Linked DNA regions of Homo sapiens: regions 2, 3, 4, 5, 6 and 7 are each linked to region 1. Evidence: promoter capture Hi-C in 16 types of primary human blood cells and fetal thymus (Javierre and others, 2016). All regions are on one chromosome and are shown on one strand. Each heading gives the region's core, a stretch centred on a gene start or on the middle of the fragment in contact. The rest is flanking DNA. Distances are from core to core; before and after follow the strand shown. Region 1 holds the start of SPOPL (speckle type BTB/POZ protein like). Region 2 overlaps R3HDM1 (R3H domain containing 1). Region 3 overlaps UBXN4 (UBX domain protein 4). Region 4 overlaps MCM6 (minichromosome maintenance complex component 6). Region 5 has its middle 9.0 kb from the start of MCM6. Region 6 overlaps DARS1 (aspartyl-tRNA synthetase 1). Region 7 overlaps DARS1 (aspartyl-tRNA synthetase 1).

Region 1 (3,608 bases), core at 309-2,808:
CCCCATTTTACAGCTGTAAGTATACTGAGGCGAAGAAATATTAAGTAACTTCCCCAAAGCCAAAGCTGGTAGATGGCAGAGCAAGGGTTTACACCCTGGCAACTATATACTAGTCTGAGCTCTAGAGAAGAGTTCTTAACCACTAGGCAACATTTCTCACAAGAATGATGAAATGGTAATTTGAAATATTCCACCAATCTCATCGTGGCAGGAGAGATGTAATTTTTCAAGGTATGAACCTTTTACCTCTGTCAGTTTCTAGTCCAAGAAACAGTGGATTCAATTGCAAGTGGGAAAGTGAGTACCACAATGGGTCAAACTAGGCCCAAGATTATTCAAAAATAGACAAAGCATCAGAAGCCTGGAAAGAATCACTGAATGACAGAGTTCAGTCAGGAAAGAGACAAGCGAAAGTTAGGATAAGCAGATGGTGAATCTTATTTCTACTGGGTTGTGTGACTGCTTTGAGAGAGAAAATGCTACCTTCCCTTTTCTTTTATGTTGAATCAATATACAAATACATTGACTCAAAAAGAATTAGGAAAAAGGAGAGCAGCAGGAATACAAGTGGGCTCTTTGAAGACTTGGACCCCGAACCGCGCGGTTAGCTTGATGTACTCTGGTATAAGTGAGCAAAAATGTATTAGAAAGCAGGTTAAAGAGAGGTTAAAGGCATGACCACCGGACTGGAGGTAGTGAGCGGTCTGCGAAGCTGAGAACTCTGCCTAAAATGGGCTAACAGGGACGAGAGTTTCAAGTGTCTGTATTTGGGATGAGGAGGTATGAAAGTGGACGCTGCGCGGTGGCAGAGCATGCAGTTTCTGCCTTTGGGCAGCACTCAGGTAAAAAGGGGCAGGTGTGGAGGTATACAGGTATAGAGGAGGAGAGAAGCCAGAGGAAAAGAAGGGGCGAGGCCCGGGGGTAAAACTAAAGGGGATCCTGGAAGGTGGAGGCTGGGAAATCAAGGAGGGATTGGGGGCAACCCCGGGGAAAGTGGTGCCGCCGCGCGAGGGAAGGGCGGTCCGGGGGCGTGGGAGGTAGTCCCCAGAGCAGGCCGGAGCTCGCCGCCCGAGCAGGGGTCCGGGACCCAGAGAGCAGAGGGCGCAGTGAGGCGCGAGCAGGAGGCCGCCGGTCTACGGAGAGCCGGGGGAGGGGAGCAAGCGCCTGGGGCTGCCGCGGGGACTGGGGGGAGGGGAAGGGGCGCCTACCTGGACGTGCTGGGCGGCAGCGGTCAGTCCTGGTGGAGACTCCTCTCCCGCTGAGGCGGTGGCCGTGTCCGCCCTGGGAGCCCGAGGCTGCGGTGGTGGCAGCAGGGGTGATGGCGGCAAGTCCCTGTGGCGGCCGCCTCCGCCGAACCGCATCCCTCCTCCCCGACCCGCCCTCCTTCCCTATCTCCCGCTCCTAAACTTCTTCCCCGGGATAAACAAACCCGCCGCCAGGGGCGGCCACCTCCGCCACTCCCGCCCCCGCGCAGCCCCCACCCCCCCGCCGCGGGCCCGTCTGGGCTCCGGCTTCCGAGTTACGACTCCAGCCCCGGCTCCAGCCCGCGAGGGCGCGTGCGCGCGGCGGCGGCGGCGGCGGCTCCTGGGCCCTTGCTCCCTCCTACAGCGCCGGGCACTTCCGGGCGGGCCCGGATTTGCCGCCGCGCTTGGGAAGCCGCCACCGCCGCCGCTGCTGCATGGCACTAGGCTCCCGGCGGGGCAGGTTCCGCAGCCGGCACCGCTCTGGCTAGGCGCACGGAGGCGCCTTGCTTAGTCTGACCCTTATTTGGCCAGGCGTAAAACTTGTCCTGCCTAAAAGCCTACTGAGACCTCCTAACTGGTCTAATCCGCGGGAGACGCCAAAGGCGGCGGCCGTTTGTGCGCACAGGATTTTTCTTGGAGCTGTAGCAGTCTAGGAAGCCAGGGTGGAACTTTTGCTAAGCTCCCGTTGTAAGCCCAGAGCTGTAATAACTGCTGAGACACAACCAGCAGTATACAGGCTCCAGTTGGAAATCGAGAACTTTCCAGGTAGATGAAGTGCCCCATGGAGCAGTTTTCAGGTGGAGGGGATGAGGCTCAGCTGGAAGTCTCAGGCCAGAAGGAGAGGCTGCCGAGGGGCGGCCAGGGATGCCTAGGAAGTGAGCGCAGAAGACCAGGCGGCCTCCTGGGACCGCACGGTGGGAAATAAAGCTGCACCTGCACAAATGTGTGAAGAGAGGATGGGATTGCCTTGTCTCTTCGGACATTTAGTTTAAAAAGGGGGTGACAACTGAACTTTTTATTCCCCACGGCCATGGGACAAAGATACTTAATCGAGCTACCAGGAGTAAACTTCTTTAAAGAAGTTTGGGGGACCAACAATCCCGGCTTTGCCAGAACAGACATGAACGTCATTCAAGGATCCCAACTCTTTTTGCTTTAACTGTGCATACGTCAGCAATTTTTGTTTTGTTTTGTTTTTGACAGGGCTGTCACCCAGGCTGGAGTGCAGTGGTGCCATCACAGCTCACTGCAGCCTCGACCTCCTAGGCTAAAGTGATCCTCCCAACTCAGCCTCCCGTAGCTGGGACTACAGGAATGTGCCACGCCCAGGTAATCTTAATTTTTTGTGGAGACGAGGTCTTGCTATGTGGCCCAAGCAGATCTCGAACTCCTGAGCTCAAGGGATCCTCCCACCTTGGTCTCCCAAAGTGCTGGGATTTGCAGGCGTGAACCACCACACCTGGCCATAAACCAACTTCTCATTGCTTACCTGGCTTTCCAAGAAAAGAGAGAGGGCAGAGGGAAAATATTTATTATTTTGCTATGTACTGAGTATTCTAAGCATGGACTTGTATCGTCTCTGTTCTCTCAACAACCTCTCTAAAACTTCAACGTAGAAATTTCCATCTTAAAATTAAGCGACAAGAACTAGAAATGGCAAGTAATTCATCCAGAGGTTACTGGGATTTGAATACTGGACAGGCAGATCCCCCTCATTTCAAATTAATACTACATTAGCTGTCTTTTTTATTTCTTTTTTCTTTTTGTTTGTTTGAGACAGGATCTCGCTTTGTACGCCAGGCTGGAGTGCAGTGGCGCGATCCTGGGTCACCTCCCAGATTCAAGCAATTCTGTGCCTCAGCCACCAAGTATCTGGGACTACAGGCGTGAGCCCGGCTAATTTTTGTATTTTTAGTAGAAACAGAGTCTCACCATATTGCCCAGGCTGGGCTCAAACTCCTGGCCTCAAGTGATCCTCCCACTTCTGCCTCCCAAAATGCTGGGATTAGCACCTGACCTTACGTTAGCAATCCTGTTGACTTATTTAAGACAAAACGTGCTTTAAGACAAAATCTGTGCCAAAGGTTTTCAGATAAAGATAAAATTAGCAATGTAACCATAAAATTCAAAGTTGCCTTGGGCTGAGTTGGTAGAATGTTTATGCAGATCAAGGAACTCCAAAAGTTAAAAAACAGAAGTGGAAGTGAGCATTAGGGAATGGGGAAAGAGTTGGTGGAGAGAGGAAATATTTGTGTAAACATTTAACCATCTCCAAACACCAGCAAAGAACAGTTGAAACGATTTGCTATACTCACTGTCCACCCGTGTTAACTTTATGGTATGTGACATACAGCAAAAATTACA
Region 2 (3,608 bases), core at 519-3,018, 2.9 Mb after region 1:
CAATGCAATCCATAATTTGTTTTTCCAAAAAAGTTCTTCTTTCCCTTTGAGTATATAAACAAGTTTTCTCTCCTCTTTTCAGCTGCTAATTAAGTTATACAAAATAGATTCTTGAGAGGCTGAAGGTAACTGTAACACAGTCATCTAATCACTAACAGAAATCAAATGAAAGATTTTTTGTTTGCAAGTACATGGGCCACAAAGTAGAAGGCAATATTTGCTTATGTATTCCTACAGCATACAGACACATCATTACACATGGAAGATACTTTACTACCCTACATGACATTTAATACTGAGATAACTGAACTTGTGTAGCAAATGAAAGGTCAGAGAATTATTCTAGATGCAGTTGGTGGAACACAAGCTTAAGTGGCAGAAAATAAGAATAATTTAGTTGTTTAAAATTCCTCATCTCAAATATCCTAGTAAATAAAAGAGATGTTTACAATCAATAGTTAATTCAAAATCATCAGCTGAGGAAATCGATTTTTCTAATTCTTGAATGAAAACAACAAATGGATCAAGAGTTAACACTTAAAAAGAGCTTACTGGCCGGGCATGGTGGCTCACGCCTGTAATCCCAGCACTTTGGGAGGCCGAGGCGGACAGATCACGAGGTCAAGAGATCGAGACCATCCTGGCTAACATGTTGAAACCCAGTCTCTACTAAAAATACAAAAAATTAGCCAGGCATGTTGGTGGGCACCTGTAGTCCCAGCTACTCGGGAGGCTGAGGCAGGAGAATGGCGTGAACCCAGGAGGCGGAGCTTGCAGTGAGCCGAGACTGTGCCACTGAACTCCAGCCTGAGTGACAGAGCGAGACTCCCTCTCCAAAAAAAACAACAACAAAAAAAAAAGAGCTTACTATATGAAAGGTATGTTCTAAGCATTCCCTATGAGGCAAGTTGTACTAACATCCTAATCTCTGAGCTGGGAAAACTGAGACAGATAGGTTAACTAACTTGTTTAAGGTCACACAACCAGTGAGCGGTAGAGTCTAGTATCTGAAGTGAGTGGTCTGGCTCTATAATCCATGTGCTTAACTACTTTGATATACTACCTATTTCTCTGTGATTATGAATTTTTTTTTTTTTAGATGGAGTCTCATTTTGTTGCCCAGGCTGGAGTGCAGTGGCTCAATCTTGGCTCACTGCAACCTCTGCCTCCCGGGTTCAAGCAATTCTCCTGCCTCAGCCTCCCAGGTAGCTGGTACTACAGGCGTGCGCCACCATGCCTGGCTAATTTTTCTATTTTTAGTAGAGATGGGGTTTCACTATGTTGTCCAGGCTGGTCTCGAACTCCTGACCTTGTGATCCACCCGCCTCGGCCTCCCAAAGTGCTGGGATTACAGGCATGAGCTGCCGTGCCTGGCAGTAATTGCGAAATTAAAAAAAATCTTCTACATTCTTAATAGTTTTAACTGACAAACATCACCATCTACTCTGATTTATTCCTACAGAGTAGGGCAAATCTAGCCTATGTATTCCAGAATATTAAACCACTGAAACTTAAATAGGCCACAGTAAAAACTGCAGGACTTAGTAAGTGACTGGACTGGAGGAGACAGAGGAGATATGATGCCCAAGTTTCTGGTTTGAGTGACTGGGTATACAGAGTGAGAATTAAGATCAGGATTTCCTGAGGTGGGGGTGGGGGAGGAGGAAGTCTTCCCTTCGCTGTCCTCTTACACATTATTTGACTTTTAGGGCAGTGAAATCTCAAGACTGAATCGTTGGACCTCATCCACTTGAGTCTATTTCCCTTACCGGCCAAGTGACGACTCCTTATCCCTTTCTTCCGAGAGGTCACCAATACGCCCTATGAATAGAAGTGTTTTTTAAATGAAAAACTGTTTCTTTTAAAAAAGTATTGTTAAACTTGTATGAATACTAACTCTATTTCAAAGGTTAAAAAAACTGTGGCCAGGCCGGGCACAAGTGGCTCACGCCTGTAATTCCAGCACTTTGGGAGGCCAAGGCGGGTAGATCACCTGAGGTCAGGAGTTCGAGACCAGCCTGGCCAACATGGTGAAACCATGTCTCTACTAAAAATACAAAAAATTAGCCGGGTGTAGTGACGGACACTGTAATCCCAGCTACTCGGGAGGCTGAGGCAGGAGAATCACTCGAACCTGCGAGGTGGAGGATGCAGTGAGCGGAGATTACACAACTGCACTCCAGCCTGGGCAACAAGGGCAAAACTCCGCCTCAAACAAACAAAAAAACTGTGGCCAGGTGCAGTGGCTTACTCCTATAATCCCAGCACTTTGGGAGGCCAAGGTGGGCGGATCACTTAAGCCCAGAAGTTTGAGACCAGCCTGGGCAACATGGTGAAATTCCATATCTACAAAAAATTAGTGGACATGGTGGCATGTGCCTATAGTCCCAGCTACCTGTGAGGCTGAGGTGGGAGAATCACCTGAGTCTGGGGAAGTTGAGGCTGCAGTGAGGCGTGATTGAACCACTGCACTTCAGCCTGGGTGACAGAGTAAGACCCTGTCTCAAACAAAAAAACACAAAAATGTGGCCAGGCATGGTGGCTCAGGCCTGTAATCCCAGCACTTTGGGAGGCCAAGGCAGGAGGATCCCTTTAGGCCAGGAGTTCGAGACCAGGCTGGTCAAAAGAGTAAGATCCTATCTCTCCCCTGCAAAAAAAAAAAAAAAAAAAAAAAAGCCAGGTGTGGTGATGCACGCCTGCAGTCCCAGCTACTTGGGAGTGTGAGGTGCGAGAATTACCTGAGCCCAGGAATTTGAGGCTGCAGTGAGCTATGACTGTGCCTCTGCACTCCAGCCTGGGCAACAGAGTGAGACGTTATCTCTAAAAAAAATCAAAAATAAAAAAACAACAAAGGTAAAAATAGAAAAAATACCTACAGGAAAATCCTGAAATGAGAACAGTAAATGACTTGGGCATGGTTTACCCTTTCAATAAAGAAAACCCATAGTTTAAATATTTAATTAAAGATTTTAAAATTTTACTTTACTTTTTTAAAGGGAAGATAAAATAGATGCAACTTGATATACTCTAGGATACTAAGCTCTAGAGGCGAACAGGTGAAATACTCAGCTTTACCATTCTCACCAGAACATTGGTCAAGCAGTAAGCCCCTAGACCCCTTCCCCACACTGGTAAAAGGTCACACTTTGGGAGTGAAAAGTAAAGCTTATTGAGTGTACGTGTATGCATATACACAATGTACTCATTCATCTTTGGGAAAAATGAAGTTACTGTCTATATATGACTCAAGAAATTAACAGCACCCAAAGTACCTGGGTGTATAATTCCAAGGAATAAGTACCAATTAATTATATTGGGCTCTAACTGGACCAAATGTATAAAGAGAAGCAGGATTGTTAGGAGATAGCAGGGACTACCTGTCTACGGGCTGCAGATTGGTAGGATACTGCTCAGTTACTGCAAAAAATTCATACACTCATCTGTATCCCAAGCACTATTACAGACACTTTTTAAATTAAAAACAAATTCTTTCACACTTGAAAACACTGAGAACTTGACCACAAAGACGTGTGGTAGAGCCAGTAGTGCCAATAACAGCAAGGTAGAAAGCATCTCGCTGGGGTCTACTTTTTTTTTTTTTTTTTTCT
Region 3 (3,608 bases), core at 717-3,216, 2.7 Mb after region 1:
GGGTAAAATGATATCTTTTGCTGTTTTTCACGTATATATAAACTTCTGAAGACTCCCAGAAGTTTTTAAAGATAAATATACAATATTATACAATTGTATATAATTGTATAATAACTGTATAATTGTATAGTATACAATTATTTTATATATTATATATATTATATTTTATATAATATATTATAATTATAAAATTATTTTATATAATTATTTTATATAATAATTGTATATAATTGTATAATATTGTATATTATATATACAATTGTAATTTTATGTTATAATATTTGGAGCTGTGTTTAAGAGAAATTGTAATATACAAACTAGAAAGTAGTTCTCAGTGAAATGAGCCAACTATTTTTTAAGAATATTAAACTTTTATAAGAAGAGTCTTTCTTGCTGATTTAAAAAAAAAGGTTCAAACAATGAAATCCTGATTACTGGAGAGCTAACTGTTTTGGGGTGGAGGGCACGTCTAGTATAGAGCAAGGAAAACTATGTTAACCAGGACACAGAAGACCCAGGCTCTCATCCCAGTTACGGCAGCAGTCATTTAAGCTGTCTGAGCTTCTTTTCTTCACCAGAGATTAAAATATTGTTGTGCAGATCAAATGGGATAATCTGTTTGAATATTCATGTTATTTTTGGCAAACAGTAGAGCATATATAAATAAAAGACACTAAGTGTGTGGATTAGACAGATAATCTGCATTTCTTACTGTCTTCTCCTATTGGTCATTTTTTTTGTACACAAAAATATGTGAAGAAAAAAGTTAAAAATTAAACTGTTTCATGTCTCACAAGTAATATCAGCAATACAAATAAAGCACAGGATAATGGAATTATAAATTCATCTAATTATTGGATCACTTGAATTTTAATTACCTTCAGTATATCTGTGCACTTCCTTTCCCCTAATTATAAGAAATGAAGAGTATGATAAACAGAAAACAATAAGAAGAGAAAAAAATGCATCTGTATATACATACTGGCAACAGTACCACCGAAGCGCTTGGGGCAAGTTCCAAATCCAGTAACTTCTTTTTATAATCTTCTTTGGTAAATTCCCTCCTGGGAAACATGGTTGCTAACGAAAAATTACCGTAAGTGTTGCCAACAGTCTGTAAAATAAGTTTTAAAAACTTAAAGAGTGCCTTTAAAAGTAAGATATTACTCAGATGAATCCAAAATGATGCTTTAATTAACATTGCCTTAATTTTAAAAGTTCATTACATGTAAACTCAAAAAAAGGTATAAAATTGTGCTTCCAGCCCCTAAGCAGCTGAAAAGCTATCAAATCCAAATAGTTTTTAAAAGCTTCTGTAACTCAAAGATGACCACAAAATAGCAAAATATAGTTCCTAAAAACACACAAATAAATTGAGTAAAAATGGACAATTGTGTATCTCCTTTAAGTACTGTTGCAGTTCATCATTAGGTTTTCACTATCCTTTGGCAAACTTAATGTCTCATGAACACACATTTGGATTACAGGTAATCCCTATTAAGAATTTGGACTAGACCAGTATTTCCCTCATATATACCTTCAGGAAGTGTAGCCTCCTCCTTGTCTCAAGGCATAAATGGTCCATAATCAACCTACATGATACACACAATACCAGATCCAGGAACGTACAATGGACAGCACTGTAAGTCACCCTCACAATTTTAAGTCCTCTATATACAAAAATCACTTGTAAAATCTTAGACATCTGTGTATCTTTCCCTAGAAGATTCCAAAGAAGGAGACTAACTTGTTTTTCGTATTTTTTTTTTTTTACTGTAGATCACACATACCCCTCACTGTTCTAAAGATACACAAAATACAAAACTTGATAACTGTACTGAGGTGGAATTTTTGTTTTTTGGGTTTTTTTTTGTTTTTTTTTTTTTTGAGACAGTCTTGCTCTGTCGCCCAGGCTGGAGTGCAGTGGCGCGATCTTGGCTCACTGCAAGCTCCACCTCCCGGGTTCACACCATTCTCCTGCCTCAGCCTCTCGAGTAGCTGGGACTACAGACGCCCGCCACCACGCCTGGCTAATTTTTTGTATTTTTAGTAGAGACGGGGTTTCACCGTGTTAGCCAGGATGGTCTCAATCTCCTGACCTCGTGATCCACCCACCTCAGCCTCCCAAAGTGCTGGGATTACAGGCGTGAGCCACTGCGCCCAGCCTGTTGTTTTTTTTGAGATGGAGTCTTGCTCTGTTGCACAGACTGGAGTACAGTGGCGCAATCTCAGCTCACTGCAACCTCTGCCTCCTGGGTTCAAGCGATTCTCCTGCCTCAGCCTCCCGAGAAGCTGGGATTACAGGCGCCCACCACCACGCCCGGCTAATTTTTGTATTTTTAGAATAGATGGGGTCACCATGTTGGTCAGCCTGGTCTCAAACTCCTGACCTTGTGATCCACCCACCTCGGCCTCCCAAAATGCTGGGATTACAGGCGTGAGCCACCATGCCTGGCCTGAGGTGGAGTTTTAATAGGACACATGCAATCAAAGATGTAGTCCCTTCTCCATTTACCTGTGGCAAAAGCAGTGAAACTCAGGACAGGGGACACATTGTGGGAGGCTCCAAGACAAAAGAAGAATGAAAGCACCTATTTGGGACTGTTTCTACTATAAAGCTTAGGGGGAAACAGTTTTTAAAATAAACGTTTACATTGTCCAGCCTAGTTCACGAGTGCAAGAAGACGACCAAATGTGGAGAAAAGGTCTGGCGGAAAGATCTGAACCCAAATCCCTAATTTTAACCTTGAAATTATATATATGAAAAAAATACTGATACATATAATGAGCCTAGAACCCAAAGGACATCTGATGCTCAGAATCCGTTTTGAATAAGGAATCAATCAGGGAATAAAAATAAATTGAAAACTACTCATATCTCAAGATATATACTCCATTCAGATTCTGAGTAAGGCCACCTTTTGGAAGTAAATTCCTGAAGAAGATACTATTGTCAAATAAAGTTTACTGCCTCTTTTTCCTTAGCCAAAAGGTAAATCGTAGGAAAATGACCAGCCCCTAAGCAATCTGTAGGAAATGGAGAGAGGAGTGAGAAAAACTGCTTCCATTTCAGGGGAGTGGGACAATTCCCTCACATCAGACCTTCGGGAAATCACTTGCCTGTCACTCCTTCAATGAGTCTACTAATCAGTGAAAAAAGTTCCCAGTGGCTGGGCTGGGTGGCTCACGCCTGTAATCCCAACGCACTGCGAGGCTGAGGTGGGAGGAATGCTTGAGCCCAGGAGTTCAAGACCAGCCCGGCTACATGGTGAAACCCTGTCTCTACAAAAAGTACAAAAATTAGCCGGGCATGGCAGTACATGCCTGTAAGTTCCAGCTACTTAGGAGGCTGAGGTGGGAGGGTCGCTTGAGCCCAGGAGGTCGAGGCTGCAGGGAGCTGTGATCGCACCACTGCACTCCAGCCTAGGCGACACAGTGAGATCCTGTCTCAAAAAATTTTAAAAAAGAAAAGTTCCCAGGACCTATTATACAATATCAGCAAATTCCTACTTCTGCACACAAAGCAGATATGTTACTCCCATATGCACTAACACCCGACAGAATTTCCACAATATCTCAGAGGCGTCTTGTGCCTCCCTCCTGGAGAG
Region 4 (3,608 bases), core at 348-2,847, 2.6 Mb after region 1:
CAGTAACTTGGAAGTTCCTTAAGACTGACAAGATGTATTTGTCAAAGAATAAATGGTAACTAGGTGGTGGTGGTTGTCATTATGAACTGGAGTTAAGAAAACTTAAAGAAATAGCAACTTGTTAGTGTAAGATTTCCATTTGCTGCATAGAAAGGAAAGCATGAATAGGACAGGCTAGCTTGGAAGCAATGAGGATTATCATGATTGAAGTAAAGGAGCCAAATTGGAGATCATCTGAGAGATGATTTGATGTGAGACCTGGAGGTACTTGGATCCCTAAATCTTAGGCTGAGGAGTTTGAGCCTATCTTAATAAGCAGTGGGAATATAGTGGGAAGGTAGTTTGTGTGTGTGGGTGTGTGTTTGTTTTGTTTTGTTTTTTGTTTTTTTTTGAGACAGTCTCTCTCTGTCACCCAGGCTGGAGTGCAGTGGCGCGATCTCGGCTCACTGCAAGCTCCGCCTCCTGGGTTCACGCCATTCTCCTGCCTCAGCCTCCCGAGTAGCTGGGACTACAGGTGCCCACCACCACACCCGGCTAATTTTTTGTATTTTTAGTAGAGACAGGGTTTCATCGTGTTAAACCAGGATGGTCTCGATCTCCTGACTTCGTGATCCGCCTGCCTCTGCCTCCCAAAGTGCTGGGATACAGGCGTGAGCCACTGCACCCAGCCTGTGTGTTTTTTTTTAAAAGCAAACTGAATAAGTCCGTGATGGGTTTAACAGAGGGTAATAGGCAATTTCAGTTACCTGGGCAAGAGGTGATGGATGGCAGTAGTAAGAATGAAGGGGACCCTCAGATTTCAGCAGGACTTAATTTTATGGGACATACAAAATGGAAAGAAAAGCTGAAGCAGCTCAAGTATGGAATAATTATTATCAGATGAATTTAATATTATTTATATTGCTCTGATAATCATTCTCCTTATTTGGCTTTCTTACATTAACCTGGTAGCTTATAAGATGCACATATTTTACCAACAGCTTTGGGTAGGAGATGTCTTATCTTATAAAGTATGAATCTAGATTGGGTCTTAGTTTGGGGGGGGGAACACAACTGTATAAAGGACACTCTTGACAAGACATTTGAAGATGGACTAGATAATAGAAGATATGTAATTTTATGAAATTAAATATTGTTTAATTATCTTGGTTGTGATAATGATATTGTAACAGGATTGTCTTTATTCTTAGAGATGAATGCTAAAATATTTAGGTATGAAGTTTCTTGATGTTCACAACTGTGTTCAAATACATAGTAAAAAAACATGTATCTGTAAATAATGTTAGCAGTTGTGTTGAAGTGGAGGGTATAAAAGGTGTATTTGAAATTTTCTGTAAAATTATCTTAAAGCTTAGGAGAAGATGGAGCATGGAACAGATATTTGGAGTCATTTTGAACAAAGAAAAAAATTATTTTTTAATGAGTAAAAGTGAAGTTTTTTTTTTCTCTGCTGCTTGAATCATCATGGAGTTTTTAAATAGATGTAATCTCTTGCCAAATTGAACTATTTGACTAAAAGGAGTTTTAGAGTAGATAATTTTTAGGATAAATGTTGGTACATGTGAAAAGTCTGCTAATGGGTCAGATAGTTTAGAATACGTCCGTATTTGTGGTATTTAATTTAGATTATATGGCATCTGAAAGGTATTGCTTCTCATTCTTGGTTGGTTGTTTGTCTGTATTACAGGTTCGTATTCAAGAGACCCAAGCTGAGCTTCCTCGAGGGAGTATCCCCCGCAGTTTAGAAGTAATTTTAAGGGCTGAAGCTGTGGAATCAGCTCAAGCTGGTGACAAGTGTGACTTTACAGGGACACTGATTGTTGTGCCTGACGTCTCCAAGCTTAGCACACCAGGTCAGTAATCTGTGGCTCAAATTTAACAAATTCTCAGTTACCTAAACTGCACAGTATCTAGCTTCCCACATCTTCATTGTCTTCTTTTTGGCTACCAATCAGAAGCTGAGGAACGAAGTGTGATGAGAATAAAAACAAATTGGTTTTGCCACAAATGGTGCTATTCTGAAAGTATTCAAGGCTTAAGTGAAGTCTTTGGATTTATAGCTTTCATTTATTTGAGCAATTTTGATGTTCAGCACCTTTAATATTTAAGTTGTGAAACAACCTATCATTCTGTTTCAGGAGCACGTGCAGAAACTAATTCCCGTGTCAGTGGTGTTGATGGATATGAGACAGAAGGCATTCGAGGACTCCGGGCCCTTGGTGTTAGGGACCTTTCTTATAGGCTGGTCTTTCTTGCCTGCTGTGTTGCGCCAACCAACCCAAGGGTCAGTCGTTTTGGGGGTTTTTGTTTGTTTTTGAAACAGTCTCTCTCTGTCACCCAGGCTGGAGTGCAATGGCAAAGTCATGGCTCACTGTAGCCTCCACTTTCTGGGCTCAAGTGATCCTACCATCTCAACCTCCTGAGTAGCTGGGATTATAGGTGTGAATCACTGCACCCAGCTAATTAAAAAAACTTTTTTAGAGATGAGGTCTTGCTCTGTTGGCCAGGCAGGCCAACAGTGAGTCTTAGTAGAGTGACAGCTTAAGAAACACCTACCCTGAGCTGCCACGAAATGATAGGATTCTGAAACATCTGGGCTGTCTCATCAATGTTGAGAGCACGGGATGGGGTTAAGATTTGATGAGTTTTAAAACCAAATCTTTTGACGTATGCCTTTCTGATCTTGAAAAAAAGTCTTATTTGATGTCTTACATAAAAGCTCAATGCTTTTAAGTGCAGTGGTACAAATTATCCACGCTGTTTTTTGTTTTAAAGTTTCATAGTTCCTCTGTTATTCTTCTGGAGGAAATACAAATAAAAAGATTTAGTAATCTGGGAAGTAAACTTCTGAGAATGATGAACCCCTGGCAGTATCATTCAGTTAACTTGATTCTGTGTCATAAATGGGAGTTTGGAAAATAGTTCAGTATTGGAAAAAGGGAGTGAACATAATATTCTCTTATTTTATTTGCATCTTTATGTCAGTGATTAACATTCTGCTATCGCTTATCTCTTGAGCATTCAGGTAGCTTTTTTTCTATTTAACTCACTGGACAAATGACATACCCTTAAGTGTCTTTGTTAACTGAGGGCTTACTAGTTTGGGGAGTTGTTTTTTTTTAAACCTTTACAGTCAATAAATTGTGAGGTTGACTTCCCATGCTATGTTGTGTTTGTAATGAAGTTTCTTCTCCTTTATGCTCTTTTGACTGCTTCTATACTAATGATTCTTCCTTTGTTCTCTACCATTAGTTTGGGGGGAAAGAGCTCAGAGATGAGGAACAGACAGCTGAGAGCATTAAGAACCAAATGACTGTGAAAGAATGGGAGAAAGTGTTTGAGATGAGTCAAGATAAAAATCTATACCACAATCTTTGTACCAGCCTGTTCCCTACTATACATGGTAAGAATTCCATCCATTTGTACCATAAACTTGAAATCAAAATAATGATTATAAACAGCCACAGGTGATTTCTGAAAGCACATAAATCAGACTGTGAAAGTTTTTAGTGGGTCTGAAAGAGGTCATTTACAAAAGGACAGGTACATGATTTCACTTATACGAGGTACCTGTAATGTGCAAATTCATAGAGACACGGTAGGATAGA
Region 5 (3,608 bases), core at 690-3,189, 2.6 Mb after region 1:
GGCAGGGGCACCACCTCCAAATATGGTCTCTGCCTTAATTCAGCAACTGTTTTAAGATGTGTCCAGCTGAGCACAGTGGCTCACGCCTGTAATCCCAGCACTTCGGGAGGCCAAGGCGGGCGGATCACCTGAGGTCAGGAGTTTGAGACCAGCCTGGCCAACATGTTGAAACCCCGTCTCTACTAAAATACAAAAAAAAAAAAAAAAAATTAGGTGGTGGGCGTGGAGATTGAGGCAGGCGAATCACTTGAACCCAGGAGACGGAGGTTGCAGTGAGCCGAGATTGCACCACTGCACTCCAGCCTGGCGACAGAGGGAGACTCCATCTCAAAAAAAAAAAAAAATCAGCTGGGTGTGGTAGTGCACACCTGTAATCCCAGCTTCTCGGGAGGCTGAGACAGGAGAATCGCTTGAACACGGGAGGTGCAGGTTGCAGTGAGCCAAGATCACACATTGCACTCCAGCCTGGGTGACGAGAGTGAAACTCCATCTCAAAAAAAAAAAGAGGCATAGTCCCCATGAGGTAGAATACAAGGGTCCAGGATACAAGAGGTGGAAGGAGTGGCCCTGCACACCATCTCTTCCGGTGATCCACTTGGGAAATTGGTGCTTCCTTCCCCACAGCTGCAGACTCTGTGGTTCTATATATCCTAGTTCCCACAGGTCTAACACTTGCACTAGGAGACACAAGAAGAGCTCCTTGAAACTTGAAACTGTCACTGCTGCTCTGCCATTTCAGGCTCCACATGCCTGCCGGCAAGCCAAACAGTCATAATATTAGTGGGTTTAACTGACCTGAGCAGCAAGAAGAGGTCAGGTATCTGTTATACAGTGGGAGCAGGATAAAGGTTTGACACCCAGGTAATCCAGCACTTCTCATACAACCACTAACCAGTTTTGACAGTAAAGGACAAGTATACCAGCCGTGGCCTAAAAAAGTATGGTGACCAAAGACTTAGGTCCTTCAGGAATGAAGGTCTGTGTCACTCCGCCAGGTAAACCACCTAGACTAGAAAAGGTGCTAGCTAAGAGGGGAATCTAGGAATGGGTTGTAGAGGAGGGAATCATGATCAGTATCAATTTTAGGCTCAAGTTCAGCTCCAGCTGCAACAGCTGAATTTCGTCCTATTAGCCTTCCTCTTGTAAGTTTCCTTAGGAAAAGAGGCCAACCAGGATCTTGTAGGTGCTGTTCTGAAATGCAGTCTTGTTACTATACAGAGCAGGTGCTAGGGTGGGCTCTAGTGGATGCCATGATGTGCAGCCCAGAAACCTACTTTAGTACCTCGTTGACTATTGACAGCTCATAGCTAACCTCTCTCCTCTCTCCCTAGGAATTACCCTTGACTAAAATAAGCTGGTTCACCCACATTTACACTACTTCCCCAAGGGCAGCCTGCATCCCATGACTGGTTGATGCTGGGTAAAAGGCCCAGCCCCCTTGCCTGATTTGGAGCCACTCTGAAGGGCTATCTGAGCTGCGGAGCTCCCTGTGGGCTCCACCGAGGTCTTTGTTGCAACTGCACAGCAGTTTGACTTCTACCTCTGCCCATTCATGCTCTCCCTGTCCCCACTAGCTATTGATCCCCACAGCACTCCCCAGTAAACCTGCTGCACACCGATATCCATTTCTGAGGACTAAGACAATGAGGAAGATGTACTCTCAGAGTGAGCACCCTTTGTGTGAAATGCAAGAGGAGAGAACACCCTTGTACAAGATACAATGGAACAATCCAAGAAATCCTGGTTGAGTGCAATCCACTGAACTGGACTGATTGAAAGCTGGTGAGGTGCCCTAGGAAATTATTAAAATATATGTAAGAAGTAAACATGGTCTCATTTTTCCCCTTTTAATTTGACAAGGAGAAAAATAATTGTAACAGCACTATCATATGCCGGTGAGGATGTGCAAGTTTTCTGGAGGATACTTTGGCAGATGTGTTAAGAGTATTAAAATGTGATTCCCAGGCTGGGCGCGGTGGCTCACACCTGCAATCCCAGCACTTTGGGAGGCTGAGGCAGGCGGATCACGAGGTCAGGAGATCGAGACCATCCTGGCTAACACAGTGAAACCCTGTCTCTACTAAAAATAAAAAAATAAAATTAGCCAGGCGTGGTGGTGGGTGCCTGTAGTCCCAGCTACTCCGGAGGCTGAGGCAGGAGAATGGCATGAACCCAGGAGGCGGAGCTTGCAGTGAGCCCAGATCATGCCACTGCACTCCAGCCTGGGCGACAGAGCGAGATTCCGTCTCAAAAAAAAAAAAAAAAAATGTGACTCCCCTTTGACTCATTAATTTCTCATCAAAATTATCTAAAGATTTAAATTTGTAAAAATATACTACATGGATGGTCTTTATAGTAATAGACGTAGCCATTAAAATAATACAGAAATATATTTATCAACTGAAAAGATGTTTATGATATACTGTTGAATTTCTTTTATTATTTATTTATTTATTTTTTGAGATGGGGTCTCACTCTGTCACCCAGGCTGGAGTGCAGTGGTGACTTCTCAGCTCACTGCAACCTCTGCCTCTCAGGTTCAAGGGATTCTCCTGCCTCAGCCTCCCAAGTAGCTGGGATTACAGGTGCACCACCACACCTAGCTAATTTTTGTATTTTTAGTAGAGACAGGGTTTCACCATGTTGGCCATGCTGCTTTCGAACTCCTAACCTCAAGTGATCCACCCGCCTTGGCCTCCCAAAGTGCTGAAATTACAGACGTGAGCCACTGCACCTAGCCTGAATTTATTTTAAAAGGAGCTTATACAATAATGAAATTCATATGAAAGGATGAAATTCATCAAAATATTAAATAATATTTCTGTGTGGTACAATTTGGGGTGGTTTTTATTCTTTTTGCTTTTCTGTATTTCTGCTTTCCTTCAATGAATGTATATTTTTTGCAATTTTAAATTATAATTTGCTATAAAATAAGAAATCAGTGATTTTTTTGGCCTCCCAGTAGATTATCTCTTTTTACAGTAAATATCCTAATTAGGATCCTTTATTTCTACTGTAACCTTGTACTTTGATTTCACTTTACACTTTATGTTTTTTGGTACAGTTGCATATCACTCTGCAAATTGTAGTTGTGTTCATATCCTGCCTCCACCATTAGGTTGTAAGTTTCCAGGAGCCCTATCCACAAACATGGCTGCCCACTGCAGGATACCCAGACAGTAGGATGGACTGAAGGACAGCAGAAGACTGAAGGACAGAATGCACACACTGAGACGAATCATATCATAGAACACGTCAGCCCTTCATTCTTGTTAATTAGGAACCTAACAACAAAACCCCCACATACCATGCCCTTGGACATTTTAGTTGAAGTCACACTAGGAATCAAACTAGCCATCCTTGATGCCTGCCACATACTGTGCAACTAAATGCTTTCTACAAAGCTGCCACCACTCATACAATCCTCTCTGCAACTGCTGAGAGCACCATGGGCTCATTTTGGTTTTTTTGTTTCATGTTTTGTTTTAATTACTTCAGAATAACTTGCATTCAGATCAGAAAAAATGTTTCATTTGGTTCCACCTGAATTGCTTGAAAGTGCACCTTTTTCTGAGCTCCCTGTCAACCCAGTGGTCTGTTATTTTTTT
Region 6 (3,608 bases), core at 174-2,673, 2.6 Mb after region 1:
CCAGATATGTTGATATTCAGGTACCAGGAGGGTTCCCAAAGGCAAGAGTGCGAAACCCTAAGAACAGACACTTTTCAAGCTTCTACTTGTGTCACATCTGCTAAATATTCCACTCGTCAAAGTCACACAGCAAAACTTAGATTTAAGGGGTAGAGAAATAGATTCTAGCCCTTGATGGGAGGAAAAGCAACATGATTGCAGGGGAATATACATGCAGGAGCAAGAGGAAGTATTGCAGCCATTTTTGCAAACAGTCTACCACAGCCACATAGGGAAAAATACAAAACACATCTGAAAAACTACTCACCAATATAAGTGAATAATAATGGACCTATCTTGCTATAAGTTTTTTGATGATGTACTTTTATTTTATTTTATTTTTCAGTTTCCATTTTTACTTTTCCTTTATTTTTATACTTTAAGTTCTAGGATACATGTGCACAACGTGCAGGTTTGCTACATATGTATACATGCGCCATGTTGGTGTGCTGCACCCATTAACTCGTCATTTACATTAGGTATATCTCCTGATGCTGTCCCTCCCCCCTCCCCCCACCCCACTACAGGCCCTGATGTGTGATGTTCCCCTTCCTGTGTCCAAGTGATCTCATTGTTCAATTCCCACCTATGAGTGAGAACATGCGGTGTTTGGTTTTCTGCCCTTGTGATAGTTTGCTGAGAATGATGGTTTCCAGCTTCATCCACGTCCCTACAAAGGACATGAACTCATCCTTTTTTATGGCTGCATAGTATTCCATGGTGTATATGTGCCACATTTTCTTAATCCAGTCTATCATTGATGGACATTTGGGTTGGTATCAAGTTTTTGCTATTGCGAATAGTGCCGCAATAAACGTACGTGTGCATGTGTCTTTATAGCAGCATGATTTATAATCCTTTGGGTATATACCCAGTAATGGGATGGCTGGGTCAAATGGTATTTCTAGTTCTAGATCCCTGAGGAATCACCACACTGACTTCCACAATGGTTGAACTCGTTTACAGTCCCACCAACAGTGTAAAAGTGTTCCTATTTCTCCACATCCTCTCCAGCACCTGTTGTTTCCTGACTTTTTAATGATCGCCATTCTAACTGGTGTGAGATGGTATCTCATTGGTTTTGATTTGCATTTCTCTGATGGCCAGTGATGATGAGCATTTTTTCATGTGTCTTTTGGCTGCATAAATGTCTTCTTTTGAGAAGTGTCTGTTCATATCCTTTGCCCACTTTTTGATGGGGTTGTTTTTTTCTTGTAAATTTGTTGGAGTTCATTGTAGATTCTGAATATTAGCCCTTTGTCAGATGAGTAGGTTGTGAAAATTTTCTCCCATTTTGTAGGTTGCCTGTTCACTCTGATGGTAGTTTCTTTTGCTGTGCAGAAGCTCTTTAGTTTAATTAGATCCCATTTGTCAATTTTGGCTTTTGTTGCCATTGCTTTTGGTGTTTTAGACATGAAGTCCTTGCCCATGCCTATGTCCTGAATGGTAATGCCTAGGTTTTCTTCTAGGGTTTTTATGGTTTTAGGTCTAACGTTTAAGTCTTTAATCCATCTTGAATTAATTCTTGTATAAGGTGTAAGGAAGGGATCCAGTTTCAGCTTTCTACATATGGCTAGCCAGTTTTCCCAGCACCATTTATTAAATAGGGAATCCTTTCCCCATTGCTTGTTTTTCTCAGGTTTGTCAAATATGAGATAGTTGTAGATATGCGGTGTTATTTCTGAGGGCTCTGTTCTGTTCCATTGATCTATATCTGTTTTGGTACCAGTACCATGCTGTTTTGGTTACTGTAGCCTTGTAGTATAGTTTGAAGTCAGGTAGCGTGGTGCCTCCAGTTTTGTTCTTTTGGCTTAGGATTGTCTTCGCAATGCAGGCTCTTTTTTGGTTCCATATGAACTTTAAAGTAGTTTTTTCCAATTCTGTGAAGAAAGTCCTTGGTAGCTTGATGGGGATGGCATTGAATCTATAAATTACCTTGGGCAGTATGGCCATTTTCACAATATTGATTCTTCCTATCCATGTGCATGCAATGTTCTTCCATTTGTTTGTGTCCTCTTTTATTTTGTTGAGCAGTGGTTTGTAGTTCTCCTTGAAGAGGTCCTTCACATCCCTTGTAAGTTGGATTCCTAGGTATTTTATTCTCTTTGAAGCAATTGTGAATGGGAGTTCACTCATGATTTGGCTCTCTGTTTGTTTGTTATTGGTGTATAGGAAGGCTTGTGATTTTTGTACATTGATTTTGTATCCTGAGACTTTGCTGAAGTTGCGTATCAGCTTAAGGAGGTTTTGGCCTGAGACGATGGGGTTTTCTAAATATACAATCATGTCATCTGCAAACAGGGACAATTTGACTTGCTCTTTTCCTAATTGAATACCCTTTATTCCTTTCTCGTGCCTGATTGCCCTGGCCAGAACTTCCAACACTGTGTTGAATAGGAGTGGTGAGAGAGGACATACCTGTCTTGTGCCAGTTTTCAAAGGGAATACTTCCAGTTTTTGACCATTCAGTATGATATTGGCTGTGGGTTTGTCATAGATAGCTCTTATTATTTTGAGATACGTCTCATCTATACCTAGTTTATTAAGAGTTTTTAGCATGAAGGGCTGTTGAATTTTGTCAAAGGCCTTCTCTGCATCTATTGAGATAATCATGTGGTTTTTGTCTTTGGTTCTGTTTATATGCTGGATTACGTTTATTGATTTGCATATGTTAAACCAGCCTTACATCCCAGGGATAAAGCCAGCTTAATGGTAGTGGATAAGCTTTTTGATGTGCTGCTGGATTTGTTTTGCCAGTATTTTATTGAGGATTTTTGCATCGATGTTCATCAGGGATATTGGTCTAAAATTCTCTTTTTTTTGTTATGTCTCTGCCAGGCTTTGGTATCAGGATGATGCTGACCTCATAAAATGAGTTAGGGAGGATTCCCTCTTTTTCTGTTGATTGGAATAGTTTCAGAAGGAATGGTACCAGCTCCTCTTTGTATCTCTGGTAGAATTCAGTTGTGAATCCGTCTGGTCCTGGACTTTTTTTGGTTGGTAGGCTATTGATTATTGCCTCAATTTCAGAGCCTGTTATTGGTCTATTGAGGGATTCAGCTTCTTCCTGGTTTAGTCTTGGGAGGGTGTATGTGTCCAGGAATTTATCCATTTCTTCTAGACTTTCTAGTTTATTTGCATAGAGGTGTTTATAGTATTCTCTGATGGTAGTTTGTATTTCTGTGGGATCGGTGGTGATATCCCCTTTATCATTTTTTATTGCATCTATTTGATTCTTCTCTCTTTTCTTCTTTATTAGTCTTGCTAGCGGTCTGTCAGTTTTGTTGATCTTTTCAAAAAACCAGCTCCTGGATTCATTGATTTTTTGAAGGGTTTTTGTGTCTCTGTCTCCTTCAATTCTGCTCTGATCTTAGTTATTCTTGCCTTCTGCTAGCTTTTGAATGTGTTTGCTCTTGCTTCTCTAGTTCTTTTAATTGTGATGTTAGGGTGTCAATTTTAGATCTTTCTTGCTTTCTCTTGTGGGCATTTAGTGCTATAAATTTCCCTCTACACACTGCTTTAAATGTGTCCCAGAGATTCTGGTATGTTGTGTCTTTGTTCTCATTGAT
Region 7 (3,608 bases), core at 579-3,078, 2.5 Mb after region 1:
TGTTTCATGTTTTTTTTCAATTTCATCAGAATTTTATTTCCATGATAATGATCTCAGAAAACATGAGAAAATGGATGGTCTTTGTGTTTTAAGTAATAAAGTAATTTCATAGTGTGTAAGTGTTTTTTAAAAGAAAGAATTCAATCAGAGTAAATGATATATTTTTTCTATTGATTTTTTTAAATGTTTGCTTTTTAGATGCATGCTTTCTAAGAATGAGTTAATACAGATGGAATTATGAATTTTAGAATTGGAAAGAAACTTAAAAATTATCTAATTCAATATCGTAATTTAGCTTTCAGCCCTCCCTGACCCTCTAGCACAATGTTATACATATAAAGGATGCTCAGCAGCTGGTTTTGGTTTAGATATTTATCAAATTACGTCATAGTAATACCTGCACTCGGATTTAAGAACTTAAGTGCCATGAATTGTATCGATTCATTGATGAGATCAGTAGTATTTTAATACTACTAATACAGTAGCCCCACCTCTCCCTATCTCCCAGTGCTGCCCAGAGATGACCACTTTTCTTCTACGTGTGTCTTCTGGTAATTAGGTTTGCTTGTTTCGTCTCCTGGTTAGAGTGTGTGCTTGTGGGGTGCATTTGTCTTCCAACCTTTTAAGGTTAGTGTGTATCCTATGAAGTCAAACATAAATGAGCTTGGTCCCTAGAAATTTTATCTGCACAGAGAACCTTCTATAAAAGAAAAAAAGATGGTCCTGGAAACCGCAGACATAGATGCTAAATTCTATTAAATATACTGAAAAATACTGGAAAAAAGTCAACCTCAAATCAACAAACAACTTTTGTATAATAATTTGGTTTTGAAAACTAATACATGAAGCCGACAGTTACATAGAGAATATATTTTTCCATTAAACTGCATTATAACCTCGGCGTTACATTCCTAAAGCTTCCAGTGGAAAAGCCTTTTGAAAATCCCAGTTACCCATAATATTCAGTGAGAGGCATTCTACTGACAAGTGGACGGTTAATCCATGTGATGTGTTTAGAAGCAGACACGTTAAAGTACTCCGCAAATAAGTTATTCCTATTATTTTGGATCTTCTCAGAAACTCCTGGGACTTGACTAAATAACAGCGATTGACTATATCAGATGTCAACCATAGCTTAATAGCTAAAAGAGCTACTTTCAAATGGTCTCCCAAACAGAACTTAGTTCACTAATGCCCTCATAAAATTAAAGAACATCTTTTTATCATTATTTTATTAAAGGCTTTCATCCAAATGGGATGATATACGGGCGATCTTTTTTTTTTTTTTTTTTTTTTTTTTTTTTTTTTTTTTTTTGAGACGGAGTTTCACTCTTGTTGCCCAGGCTGGAGTGCAATGGCGTGGTCTCCGCTCATCGCAACCTCCTACCCGGTTCAAGCAATTCTCCTGCCTCAGCCTCCCCAGTAGCTGGGATTACAGGCATATGCCACCACCATGCCCAGCTACTTTTGTATTTTTAGTAGAGACGAGGTTTCTCCATGTTGGTCAGGCTGGTCTTGAACTCCCAACCTCAGGTGATCCGCCCGCCTCAGCTGTTCAAAGTGCTGGGATTACAGGCATGAGCCACCGCAGCCGGCCATGGGTGATCTTTCTTTTAGACAAGGGAAGAATATAGGTAATTTAGCCTAGATTTTTTAATTCCTGAAGTGGAACTCCATAAGGATCTAGATGCAGTTCAGGCTTAACTAAATTGTGACTTGATTTTTTTTTTTTTAAGCAAAGGACATGCAGCTATTTTTAGTCCCTTTAAAAAATGGACTTTATATAAAGTAGCAATGTGTAGGAAAAGGTTGAGCTGTTCCAAATTATAAACCTTGTCACTGGTTATATGTAAGTGAATGGAGCCAATTTTATACAATAGGTTCAACATGTGGTACATAGATAACTATTATTAAACTTTTGGCACTAGCATGTTAAGGAATCGAGCCTGAATAATTACCAGTAGGTGGGTTAATGGCTTTTGCTATCTTGCGAAAAAGGAAAATTCTTATGGCTAAGACTCGTTGGCAAAAAATGATGAGTTTTTAGGTTTTGTAGTTGGTTAAGATAATTTTCTTAGGAACATGATTTTATGTTCCAGATGGGTCAGTCAGTTTGTCCTTTCTGTGTGATGTAACCTATACTTCTAAGATAGTTCAGAAATCCTGATCCTTCTTGGTAGGAGAAGTCTACTTTTAGACTTCGGCAAGAACTTTTTAGAACTTTTTTAGGGAAAAGATATATGGGGTTTTTCTTTGTCTTTTAAAATCCTTTTCCTAAAAATTGTTAACTGTGTTTTAGCGCATAAAATGGGTATGCGCTAAAATTGTGAAAGCAAAAATTAAGGTAGCTTTCATACATTTATCTTTGAGGTCACTTGTTTAGGCAGCAGATCACTAGTAGTATAACAGTTGGATGCAAGGAAAAATGTTTCTATTTCTAGTTCCAGTTAAGTTCAGATACTTGATAATTCATTTGATACAAATTTTAACTAACAATGCCACATTAACTTTCACATAAGTAAGACAGTTTTATAAAATGATTGACTGATACTTTATTTAAATTGTCATTCTTAGATTACTCTTTGCAGAATTTTGGTTAATTGTGAAGCTGAAATATCCTGACTCTACCTCAAAGTTAATGTTTTAGGTAACTGAACAGGTATTCTTCCCATTACTAGTATTGAAGTCAGAATACAGAAACAAATTAATTATGGAACTGGCTCTAAGGCTACAAGCTTTATAGAGTAAACCAAATGTCAGCAATTTAGTTTTAGTGAAATTAAAAATTAATATTACTTATTAATTTGAATTTTGTTTTTATTTAAAAATTTATTTCTATTTTAAAGTTAAGGGCTATAAGCATAAGCATTTACAGTAGTTTGGTATTTGTAGGTCTTTAAGTAACATGACAGAACTTATTTAAGTGATTAATGGGGTTTGCTGACATTTTTTATTCCACTAAAGAGAACCTATAGAGTAGTTTTAGAACTGCTGGTCTGTGCCTTGTTGAGTAGTGCATACTTCTCACCACGCTTATTTTGGATCAGCTGGGCATGGTGGCTCATGCCTGTAATCCCAGCAATTTGGGAGGCCAAAATGGGCCGTTCACTTGAACCCAGAAGTTTGAGACCAGCCTGGCCAACATGGCGAAACCCCATCTCTACCAAAAAAATTTTTTTTAAATTAGTCGGCCGAGCGTGGTGGCTCATACCTGTAATCCCAGTACTTTGGGAGGCCGAGGCGGGCAGATCACGAGGTCAGGAGATCAAGACCATCCTGGCTAACACCCGTCTCTACTAAAAATACAAAAAATTAGCCAGGCATGGTGGCGGGCACATGTAGTCCCAGCTACTCGGGAGGCTGAGGCAGGAGAATCGGTTGAACCCAGGAGGCGAAGGTTGCAGTGAGCCAAGATTGTGCCACTGCACTCCAGCCTGGGCGACAGAGCGAGACTCCGTCTCAAAAAAAAAAAAAATTAGTAGGATATGGCTGCATGCACCTGTAGTCGCATCTACTCTGGAGGCTGAGGTGGGAGAATCACCTGAGCCCAGGAGATCCAGGCTGCAGTGAGCTGTGATTGTGCCACCGCAGTCCAGCTTGGGCAACAG

Evidence for each region. The method cuts DNA at HindIII sites, captures the fragments that hold promoters and counts their contacts. A CHiCAGO score of 5 or more calls a contact.
Region 2: a fragment that was not itself captured here is called in contact with the fragment with the promoter of SPOPL in region 1 in 1 of 17 cell types (non-activated CD4 T cells); the score reaches 5.4 in non-activated CD4 T cells.
Region 3: a fragment that was not itself captured here is called in contact with the fragment with the promoter of SPOPL in region 1 in 1 of 17 cell types (neutrophils); the score reaches 6.5 in neutrophils.
Region 4: a contact is called between a fragment that was not itself captured here and the fragment with the promoter of SPOPL in region 1, in 1 of 17 cell types (naive B cells). The highest score is 8.0, in naive B cells.
Region 5: a fragment that was not itself captured here is called in contact with the fragment with the promoter of SPOPL in region 1 in 1 of 17 cell types (neutrophils); the score reaches 7.0 in neutrophils.
Region 6: a fragment that was not itself captured here is called in contact with the fragment with the promoter of SPOPL in region 1 in 1 of 17 cell types (total B cells); the score reaches 6.8 in total B cells.
Region 7: a fragment that was not itself captured here is called in contact with the fragment with the promoter of SPOPL in region 1 in 1 of 17 cell types (total B cells); the score reaches 6.3 in total B cells.

The regions. Positions count from the first base shown.
Region 1 is chr2:138,499,720-138,503,327 of GRCh38, reverse strand. SPOPL (speckle type BTB/POZ protein like) reads right to left here and starts at 1,558. Exons shown (of 11, transcript NM_001001664.3): 1 at 1,209-1,558. SPOPL-DT (SPOPL divergent transcript) reads left to right here and starts at 1,633. Exons shown (of 2, transcript NR_187149.1): 1 at 1,633-2,009; 2 at 2,448-3,608. RefSeq lists silencers at 873-922, 1,123-1,662. The HindIII fragment of the contact is 5,215 bases long and covers 1-3,608 here.
Region 2 is chr2:135,566,971-135,570,578 of GRCh38, reverse strand. All of the region lies in intron 1 of R3HDM1 (R3H domain containing 1), which reads right to left. Among named protein-coding and RNA genes, the nearest start is that of R3HDM1, 37 kb to the right of the region's middle. The HindIII fragment of the contact is 2,798 bases long and covers 370-3,167 here.
Region 3 is chr2:135,776,454-135,780,061 of GRCh38, reverse strand. It overlaps UBXN4 (UBX domain protein 4), which reads right to left. Exons shown (of 13, transcript NM_014607.4): 11 at 983-1,114. Among named protein-coding and RNA genes, the nearest start is that of UBXN4, 36 kb to the right of the region's middle. The HindIII fragment of the contact is 1,308 bases long and covers 1,313-2,620 here.
Region 4 is chr2:135,864,808-135,868,415 of GRCh38, reverse strand. It overlaps MCM6 (minichromosome maintenance complex component 6), which reads left to right. Exons shown (of 17, transcript NM_005915.6): 5 at 1,688-1,853; 6 at 2,139-2,284; 7 at 3,253-3,403. Among named protein-coding and RNA genes, the nearest start is that of MCM6, 9.8 kb to the left of the region's middle. The HindIII fragment of the contact is 490 bases long and covers 1,353-1,842 here.
Region 5 is chr2:135,883,603-135,887,210 of GRCh38, reverse strand. No RefSeq gene overlaps it. Among named protein-coding and RNA genes, the nearest start is that of MCM6, 9.0 kb to the right of the region's middle. The HindIII fragment of the contact is 4,028 bases long and covers 1-3,608 here.
Region 6 is chr2:135,939,456-135,943,063 of GRCh38, reverse strand. The region is part of intron 5 of DARS1 (aspartyl-tRNA synthetase 1); the gene reads left to right. Among named protein-coding and RNA genes, the nearest start is that of DARS1-AS1, 44 kb to the left of the region's middle. The HindIII fragment of the contact is 2,684 bases long and covers 82-2,765 here.
Region 7 is chr2:135,957,099-135,960,706 of GRCh38, reverse strand. The region is part of intron 4 of DARS1 (aspartyl-tRNA synthetase 1); the gene reads left to right. Among named protein-coding and RNA genes, the nearest start is that of DARS1-AS1, 26 kb to the left of the region's middle. The HindIII fragment of the contact is 1,818 bases long and covers 920-2,737 here.